Regions from separate parts of the Homo sapiens genome. Here region 2 is linked to region 1. The links are contacts of gene promoters, found by promoter capture Hi-C in human tissues and cell types (Jung and others, 2019). All regions are on one chromosome and are shown on one strand. The core of a region is centred on a gene start or on the middle of the fragment in contact, and the rest is flanking DNA. Distances in the headings are between cores, read along the strand shown.

Region 1 (4,870 bases), core at 1,387-3,886:
AAAACACAACCTGGATGACATACATTTCTTTTCATTTCATGTAAACCTGGAAACTTTTATGTTAATCCCCCATTCATGACATTGTTCACATTCCTTATGCTTGTTATATTAAATATGCCATGATTTGACAATTTATTAGAGGCACAGGAATCCACTCTCTGATGGTTCTAATCACACAGACCAATAACTAATTTTCCTTTGAGAAATTTTGTTCTATCAGAAAAAAAATAACCAAGTTTTTTTGGGGGGCTTAATGTGTCAGAAGCTGTTATATATTTTGTAAATATTATTTAATCCTGTCAACAATCCTATGAAAGAGAGGTTATTATCTTTCTCACTCTTATAGGTGAGGAGACCAAGGCACAGAGAAATTAAGTAACTGGTTTAAGGCTACACAGACAGTAAATGAGAAAACCAGAATTTGCAAGTAGGCTGTGTTGTGCTGTAGCCCAAGGTAGACATCTCTGTTTCCCCTTCAATCTAATGTATAAAGACATGAATAGCACTGAAAGCTAAATGCAAATAACCTAGAGTTAAATACTACGCAGGAAGTTTTATAGATTATTTTCATTTTCATGTATTTTGAGTGGTACTTGTCCAGTATCAAATGGATTTTCCATTATTAAATAGTGAAATTCAATTATTCTTCTAAGCATTTAATATGTTTTTTGAGCATAATAAGGTCATCCATACTTTTATTTGGATGAATGGCTGGATTATACATTTTAGCACATAGAAATTTCACAAAGGCTTCTAATCTTGGCTTTATGAACATTTAAGAACTAAAGTTAAATATATTTATTTATTTTGGTGATTTTGCATACATACAAAAAAACCCTCACACACATTGGAGGTAGTTCTAGTAGTAGAAATATACTAAATTGATATGTAACTGTTTAGAAGGAATTTTGATTATTACAAACAGTAGGTAACCTCAAATTTTAAAATTGCATAAGGTTGTGTTATATATTGATTTTTTTTAAGCATCATCAGCTGAAATGAAAATAGTATTTTATAAGAATTTCTTATTGGTTCAAACTCAGCTGTTAGTTTATACCTACAAGTTAAAATCCAAAAAAAAACTTTGTTAAGGATGTGAGCTGAAAGCTGCAGACTTCACATTGCCTTTTTAATACACTTTCCACCTTGCCCGTCAGACTTCAGGTAAAATTCTCCTTTATCCAGTCAGCCCATGGCTACACTCGTGCTTTTAGAAAATTTGTTCTGCTCATGTCAGAAACCATTAGGCATTTACCGGAATCTAACTAAGATTGAAAACTAACGCAGTGAGTGATTAGAAAAAGTAGGGTAGTGATTGATTAATGGGGAAAGAACTGGATTATTTTGATCCCACTTAGCGGCTGAGAGAGATGGAACTAGTCTTCCAAACCACCCAGAAACCCCTCCAGTTGGGGTGAGGAGCTTCAGTCTGAGAAACTGTCCAGCATTCCTCCGAAGAGGATGCGGATTGTTTTCTTCCTTGTAACCCCAAGTGCTCTCTCATGCCCACTGGCCCGGCTGCAGTCGTTCATTTCAAGTGAATATTGCAGACGGTTGACTTTACAGTATTCGGGGTCATTAATCATCATTTATATTTACACGTATCTTTTTAAAAACCACGCACAAAACACTAACATATTAATCTCATCTTCTTGCTCCTGTGAAGTAGAATGTTATTCCTACTTTCATAGAAGAGACAATTAATTTGACAGAGGTCCACACAGGGAATATGACATCCAACGAGAGCTAGAGCCCCTGTCGGTCTTATATACTCACCTTTATATTACTAAGTCGTTTGTGACGGGGGCAAGACAAGCAGGCTGGGAAGAACACAGCTTGGGAGAGCAAGTTGGGTAAGAGGGATCTAAATAAAGTCTCTGCTTTTCTAACAGAAGGTGGTTTCAAGTTTTTCTATTGGCTAGATAAACCCTTCATCACTTAACCAAGCATGCAAGAAGAAAAAGCTCACTTTAAGTAAAAATTGTCAGAATTGGTTTGTTTGCGGAGCCATCATGAAAAAATATTTCTCAGTTCACAGTTTCCAAAAACTTTCGAGTTGTGTGGGGGTGGCGGAGCGCTATCCTTCTTCCACCCATCTCCCATCCCTGGAATGGTGTCTGCTAGGGCTATTGGCCGTCATCCACCAACCCCTCTAGCCGGCCGGCAGCCCCCGCTAGTCCGCCGGCTGCAGAGCGAGCCGGGGACTTTCGAGCGGGCAGGAAGCCCAGCGTTCCGGGTTCCAGGAGCGTTTCTGGGAGTCCGCGCGGCCCCTGCAGGTGGAGGCGCGCGGGGCGCGTGCACAGGCGCGGCGGGCACGGAGTGCGGCTGCAGCGCATCGTTTGTTCCCTAGCCGGCTTTCTCTCTCCACCTTCTGCACTCGTTATTGCCCCCTCTCTGCACTTACTTCCGGGCCAGGGTGCCCTTACCCGATGTGCTTCTTCCTCAGCCCCAGAGTGTCCCGCTTACTGTACAGCTCGCACATGGTGGCGGGGTGCAGGGCGCTGCGAAGGTGCAAGGTGCAAGGTCTGCGCGCCTCCTACGCGAGCCTGGGACTGCCTTGGCGGCCCCGGCCGGCCTTCCTCCCGTTATCCCTCCTGGCGTTCTCTTGCCCGGGGCGTCGGAGGTCACCGGTGGCGTCAACTAGCTAGGATCATCTCCCTTTTAAGTCTGGCTCTGGCGTTGCCCTTTGCCAAGCCCCTCCTCCTCCCCCGCCGGGGCCGCGGGCAGGTCGCCGGGCTAGCAGCTCATTCGCCACCACCCTGTCCTGCCAGGCCGGCTCGGCCCTACCCGCCCCTATCATTCCTCTGAATTCGCCTTTCATTCTCCTAACTTTGCCTCGTCTTTGCTTTTCCTCCTCCTCTGCCTGCGAATTCCCTCCTTCCCACGTTCTTTCTGGTTTCTTTTTAGTGTAGTCCTTTATTTTCTGGTAAAAATTCAGGAGTTAGGCGCTTCCCGGATCAAGACTCACTGCGCAGTCTGATAAGGTAACCTACCATTTACTCAGCACAAGGACGCGTCCTAACGAGAAATAACCCGGACTCAGCCTGTTATCTCCATTGGCAGTGATGATATATGCAGTGTTTCAAACATCTCCTTTAACAATGATTACACTTCTAATTCCTCTAACTATACAACTTACAAAACACATTCACATGACTTATCTTGTTCAGTCTTCAAAACAACCCTGAGAGATGACCACGAGTGTTACCCCATTTAATGAACGGGGAAAGTGAGGTTATTCCCTGTTCTAATGATTATATATCCACTTGATGCTGAAAACGGGACTCATTCTTAGATTTCTTGACTTCCTTCAAGATGGTCTTCTCACACAGATCATATCTGAAGCTAAATATGTGCACAGGTAGAAACTTTTTTTTTTTTTTTTTTTTTTTTTTTTTTTTTGAGGATGGAGTCTGGCTCTGTCACCCAGGCTGGAGTGCAGTGGCGCAATCTCGGCTCACTGCAAGCTCCGCCTCCCGGGTTCACGCCATTCTCCTGCCTCAGCCTCCCGAGTAGCTGGGACTACAGGCGCCCGTCACTACGCCCGGCTAATTTTTGTATTTTTAGTAGAGATGGGGTTTCACCATGTTAGCCAGGATAGTCTCGATCTCCTGACCTCGTGATCCCCCCGCCTCGGCCTCCCAATAGAATCTTAATTAACTGAATCATTAAATCATACATTATTTTAACTAGAAGTCATCTGGTTTAACTTCTCTGCTCTGTAGATAAGAACAGTGAGGCACAGGAAAGGTGAAGGTTTATTCAAGTTCACACAAACACTTAGTCATTGGGTTAAGGATAGGTCATTTTATTCTCTCTGTGTTTTGAAAGGGCAGCAGGGAAAGCCTAATTTGCATGTATCAACACATTTGATAAGTATTTGCAACTGATCTTTCTCTTGAAAAAAGTTATTAATATATATTCATGCACTGCAGGAGGAGTAGAATTGGATTGCCTAAGGTAGAAAGAGAAATGGAGTCCTATGAGGAACAGTGTGTTAATTCCAGATTTTAGGCCAGGCGCCGTGACTCACGCCTGTAATCCCAACATTTTGGGAGTCCAAACTGGGCGAATCACCTGAGGTCTGGAGTTCCAGACCAGCCTGGCCAACATAGCAAAACCCCATCTCTACTAAAAAAATACAAAAATTAGCTGGGCGTGGTGGTGGGCACCTGTAATCCCAGCTACCCAGGAGGCTGAGGCAGGGAGAATTGCTTGAACCTGGGAGGCAGAGGTTGCAGTGGGTTGAGATCATGCCACTGCACTCCAGCCTGGGCAACAGAGTGAGACTCCATCCCCCTCCACAAAAAAAAGAAAAAAAAAAGAATTCCGTGTTTTATAAATGAAGAGCAGGAAGCACTTTGGAGACTTGCAAGAAATCCCAGTTATGTAATCTTGGTCTAGTTCTGTGCCTGAAAGATATTGCCAACTGTATATCTACTCTCAAACCACCTTGACCTGGTGAAGTCATAGTCACACTTCCTTCATAAAACTTTATGGATTCTTGTTGTTAATATTCCCAGTGCCTTAAGAAACTCTGGATTAAGAGTCTTGGGTTCTAGATCTGGTTCTTCCATAAACCAGCTGGGCTTCTTAACCTTTCTGAGGCCCAATTTCTTTGTATTGAAAACTGAGCTCTGTGGCTGGTGGGGAGCTACACAGCTGTAATCCCAACACTTTGGGAGGCTGAGGCAGGTGCATCACTTGAGCTCAGGAGTTTGAGACCAGCCTGGGCAACCTGGTGAAATTCTGTCTGTACAAAAAATTTAAAAATGAGCCAGAGATGGTGGCGTGTACCTGTAATCTCAGTTACTCGGCAGGCTGAGGTGGGAGGATCCCTTGAGCCTAGGAGGAAGAGTCTGCAGTGAGC
Region 2 (4,870 bases), core at 1,421-3,920, 64 kb after region 1:
GAGGCATTTACTTTTGACATTCTCTATTTTCACAGAATCATATTAGCATAAGATATATAGGGACTAAATGTTAAAAGGAAAAAAATATTGCATAACTGCTTTGAGAAAAAAACATAATATATCATTCTGTAAGGATAGCATGTGAGAAGTATATTGATTTTATGCATATTTTTCATAAATAGGTCATGCTGATGTTAAGAGTACCCTCAATTTGGGAAAGTATTTTGAAGTGCCACTATCCACTACCAGTTATTAATTTTATACAAGATAATTGTGTTTTTTTGCTTTTCTGTTTTATCTCATGCAAACACTAGTGTATTTTATATTGCTGTTTACATGCACAGCAATATATGTTCTATGCATACCTATATGCACAGAAAAAAAAGAAGTATTCTTTTTGTTATCGATGATGGAGACCATCAACATCTATTATAATAGGATGATGTTTATTGTACTTATTACTTACATCAAGACCAGGCTCTCCATCTTTCCCCTGCCAAAGAACCATAGTAGCTACATTAGTGTTTCTAAGTTTTGTGAATAGATTATTGCTTTATTTAAGGCTGTCTGAACATGCAACACTAGTACTAGAACAACTACTTCAGAAATGTGAAAAAGATTCTCATTTGGATTAGTGACTGTTAGTGTTGCAGTTAAGGGTCATGAAAATTTTATATTATATATAGGGTTAAATAGATTAATATTTTGCTGATGTTTAAGCCTTGGTAGCTAAGTTATCAGTCCAGGAGTTAAATTAAAAGTAAAAAATACTGTTTAGTTGATTAGTGACTGTTAGTGTTGAAGTTAAGGGTCATGAAAATTTTATATGATATATTGGGTTAAATAGACTAATATTCTACTGATGTTTAAAGCTTGGTATCTAAGTTACCAGTCCAGGAGTTAAGTTAAAAGCAAAAATACTGTTTAGCTGATTTAAAAACATACCAGCACTAATAGAGGATGTGAATCAATGCTACTTTAATTTGATAACTTAGTAGTTAGCTCACAAATGAGTAAAGAATGTAGAAATACAGTTTTAATTTGGCTAGGATGTGCACACTGTGTACGAAGGATGTGAAGGCTGCAACTTAAAAGCTGTTTTTAAGTAAGCTTTGTAAATGAATAATCCCCAAATTTTTTTTAAAAGTTGTAAGACTGTTAGGCAAGAATGATAAATTCACTCCCATGGTGCAGATTATCATGGTGATGACCCTATTGTGTCATATTATGGATCCATCCAAAGTTCACGAGAGGTTACTTTGATTTCATCAATTAGATTTTGAAACCTATTTCAAAATCAGCATCTTTTTTTTGATTTAGCACTGAGGTAATCATGGTTTATGTTTATTATTTCAATTCATAAAGAGCATGTGTGAGATATGGAAAGGTTAAAACCCTTAATGCAACGTACGCTTCTACTGTCGTCCTACCCTATCTTAATGAATCAATTATAATTATTCCCAAGATGATATTTTTAAAGCAAACCAGAGGTCTCAATTTGAATTCTGTGTAATTAAGAATTTTCAGGCCGGGCGCAGTGTCTCACGCCTATAAATCGAGCACTTTGAGAGGCCGAGAAGGGCGGATCACTTGAGGTCAGGAGTTTGAGACCAGCGTGGCCAACATAGTGAAACCCCATCTCTACTAAAAATACAAAAATTAGCTGGGCATGGTGGCACACATCTGTAATCCCAGCTACTTGGGAGGCTGAGGCAGGAGAATCACTTGAACCCAGGAGGTGGAGGTTGCAGTGAGCCAAGATCATGCCACTGCACTCCAGCCTAGGCAAAAGAGCAAGACTCCATCTCAAATGATAATAATAATAAGAAGAGAAGAATTTTCAGAAGACAGAGCACTATCAGTGTTCTATGTTCTGCAGATCATTTGTCATCACGGTAATTTAGAAAGTCAGAAACATCAAGTCGTCATAAATATCAATGTAATTGGGGGAATAATTTTTACTAGCAAGAGTCATTTTAGTAAATAGTCTATAGGAACAGATAAAGTCTGAAGAAGGCTGTTTTCAGTGAAGCTTCCACAGCCATTTTTGGATCCAGTGATTTTCCAAGGAAGTGCCAGTTATGAGTGTCCAGTCAGATGATGTAGGGAGGGCATCTTCTGACAGTTAGGATCCTGTTCTCGAGTTAATACTTTATTCTAGAGACAGTCTCTGATCCTGTCAATCTCGTGAAGTGCCTGGATATGTGTCTGTACATGATGAGAGGGCAAGAGACTGAATATGACCTATTTGTGAAGGACATGGAAGTACTGAATTTATAGATAATGAGTGGATTGTTGTTTCTTCTCTAACATTAGTCTGCCCCACAAGCGAAGGGTTAACCGTGTCAGTGACTGGTCATCTATGCATGCGGAAGGTGGGGAGGTGCATGTGACCAGGAACTCACAGGCAGCCCATAGGGCCCTCTTGGTCCAGGCTCTCCCATAGCTCCTTTTTCACCCTAAAATGAAAAGTAGAAAGTTCAAATCATACACACCCACCTACATTCACACACTTTCTCTCATGCCCTATGTCTAAAGCCTCTATTTCAAGGACCATTCTATGAAAATCTCAAAGATTTAGCCTCTTGCAGAGTCACTGCCAGTGATATTTGGAAAGTAATCCACAGTAGCATCTTTTACTAAATCACCTTTGAAAGAGGGGCAGCACAAGATTGCTGCTGGCCAGCTGTGCAAAAGCATTTGCATATCTCAGATGTCATACTTAGGTTTCTTTGGCATTAGTGTGAAACATTTATTTGTTACTAATTATTTTGTTAGCACCTTTAAATGTAAGAATAAAGTGTCTTTCTTTTTTGAGACAGGGTCTCCCTCTTTCATCCAGGCTGGAGTGCAGTGGCATGATCATGGCTCACTGAAACCTTAAACTACTGGGCCTAAGTGATCCTCCCACCTCGACCTCCTGAGTAGCTGGGACTACAGGCAAGCACCACTATGCCCAGGTAGTTTTTAAATTATTTGTAGAGATTACTATGTTGTCCAGGCTGGTCTTGAACTCTGGGGCCTCAAGCAATCCTCCCACCTTGGACTCCCAAAGTGTTGGGATTACAGGCTTGAACTACAGTGTGTGGCCTGAAATACCTTTCCTTCTATCAAAAAACAATTATTCAGGGAAACCCTTTCTCGATTGCCCACTTCCTACCCCCAGCTATATTTTATTTCACAGCCCTTAGACACCAGAAGACCCATAAAGCTTATGACCTGCTTATTCTCTGCTACCCTCACTAGAATATACACAGGAGGGTTCTGGGGCCTCTAGCTTTGTTGTTCCCTATAGCATCCTTACAGCTTAGAATAGTGTATGGCACATCAGTAAATGTTTGTTGAATGAATGAATCAAAGCAAATCTATATAATCATGTACACAGTTTGCTTCCTTTCTGAAAAAGAGGATTTATTTATTTTTTATTTTGAGACAGAGTCTTGCTCTGTTGCCCGGGCTAGAGTGCAGTGGCACAATCTCGGCTCACTGCAACCTCCACCTCCCAGGTTCAAGCAATTCTGCCTCAGCCTCCCGAGTAGCTGGGAGTACAGGTGCCCGCCACGCCTGGCCAATTTTTGTATTTTTAGTAGAGATGGGGTTTCACCATGTTGGCCGGGCTGGTCTCGAAGTCCTGATTTCAGGTGATCCACCCACCTGAGCCTCCCAAAGTGCTGGGATTACAGGCGTGAGCCACCGTGCCTGGCCTGAAAAAGAGGGTTTAAAAACTTTCAACCCCTCTGAATGCCAGATAAGGTAGGTATATGTTATCTTCCTCACTTTCTCTCTAAGTGCCTATTTAAATAGAACAGCTTTCCCCATCTTACACGATATTCTTGAACACTTATAAAGAATAAGTGTTATTGGAGGTAATCTTGTGAATAGAATAATTGTGATGATAAAGAAAGAGATGTTCTGTATTTCAAATGGTGTTTTCTGCTGCTGCCATCTCCAAATTGAAGTGTTTGTCAGTATTTAGTAGGAAAACTTCAGGAGTAATGGTGATTTTATATGAGTAGCCAAACAGAAAATCTTATCTCCTTTTATCATACCCCTGAAGGAGTTTAAAGGTTAGCAAATCTTTTTTCTTGGCAAAACGCCAGGTTCAGCTGATAACAGTGCCTGCAGAGCCACCTGATATGCCTGTGTTTCTCCAGATTCCCGTGTGAGCAAATTTCAGGTCCCTGATAGCATTTTCTTTATCTAAATTTGAGGGGTCAGTGGAACTAATTAACACTGTCACCTAGAGGCAATATGGTATGGGTGAGATTACTGAAAATAAATACGATAAAAGTTTGAACTTTTATTCATTATTACTTTACGGTTATTACCAAAGCAGAAGCAATTGCACTCAGCACAGTGGCCAGATTTTAAATGAAACATTAAACATTTTTTTAAGAAGGGAATTTCCTTAATTTGTTAAGAGACATCTATAAAAAATATCTACAGCATATTTCTTAATAGTGAAATATCAAAAACAGTCCCTTTAAGAATGGAGCAAAGGACGGGCGCAGTGGCTTATGCCTTGCACTTTAGGAGTTCAAGGCAGGAGGATCATTTGAGGCCAGGAGTTTGAGACCAGCCTGGGGAACAAGGTGAGACCCTATCTCTAAAAAAACAACCAAACAAAATAACTAGTAAGGTGTGTATGTGTAAGTGTGTATCTATCTATCTATCTATCTATCTATCTATCTATCTATCTATCTATCATCTATCTATCTGTGTGTGTGTGTGTGCGCCCACACACGCACGTGTAGTGGGAGGTGAGAGTTTTAAGGGAGGAGCCACATAAACTGGACTATGTCTAGTTTGAAATAACTGAAATAACTCCACAGATTAGGGTGGGTCTAATTGGAAAAATCTCCATAGATTA

What was found. The method cuts DNA at HindIII sites, captures the fragments that hold promoters and counts their contacts. A contact is called where the count stands out against the background at its distance.
Region 2: a fragment that was not itself captured here is called in contact with the fragment with the promoter of ETNPPL in region 1 in 2 of the 25 tissues and cell types used here (adrenal gland and liver).

What each region holds. Positions count from the first base shown.
Region 1 is chr4:108,760,417-108,765,286 of GRCh38, forward strand. It overlaps ETNPPL (ethanolamine-phosphate phospho-lyase), which reads right to left and starts at 2,637. Exons shown (of 13, transcript NM_031279.4): 1 at 2,427-2,637. The coding sequence starts at 2,482. The HindIII fragment of the contact is 8,640 bases long and covers 1-4,870 here.
Region 2 is chr4:108,824,730-108,829,599 of GRCh38, forward strand. It overlaps COL25A1 (collagen type XXV alpha 1 chain), which reads right to left. Exons shown (of 38, transcript NM_198721.4): 33 at 2,406-2,459; 34 at 467-493. Among named protein-coding and RNA genes, the nearest start is that of ETNPPL, 64 kb to the left of the region's middle. The HindIII fragment of the contact is 3,359 bases long and covers 992-4,350 here.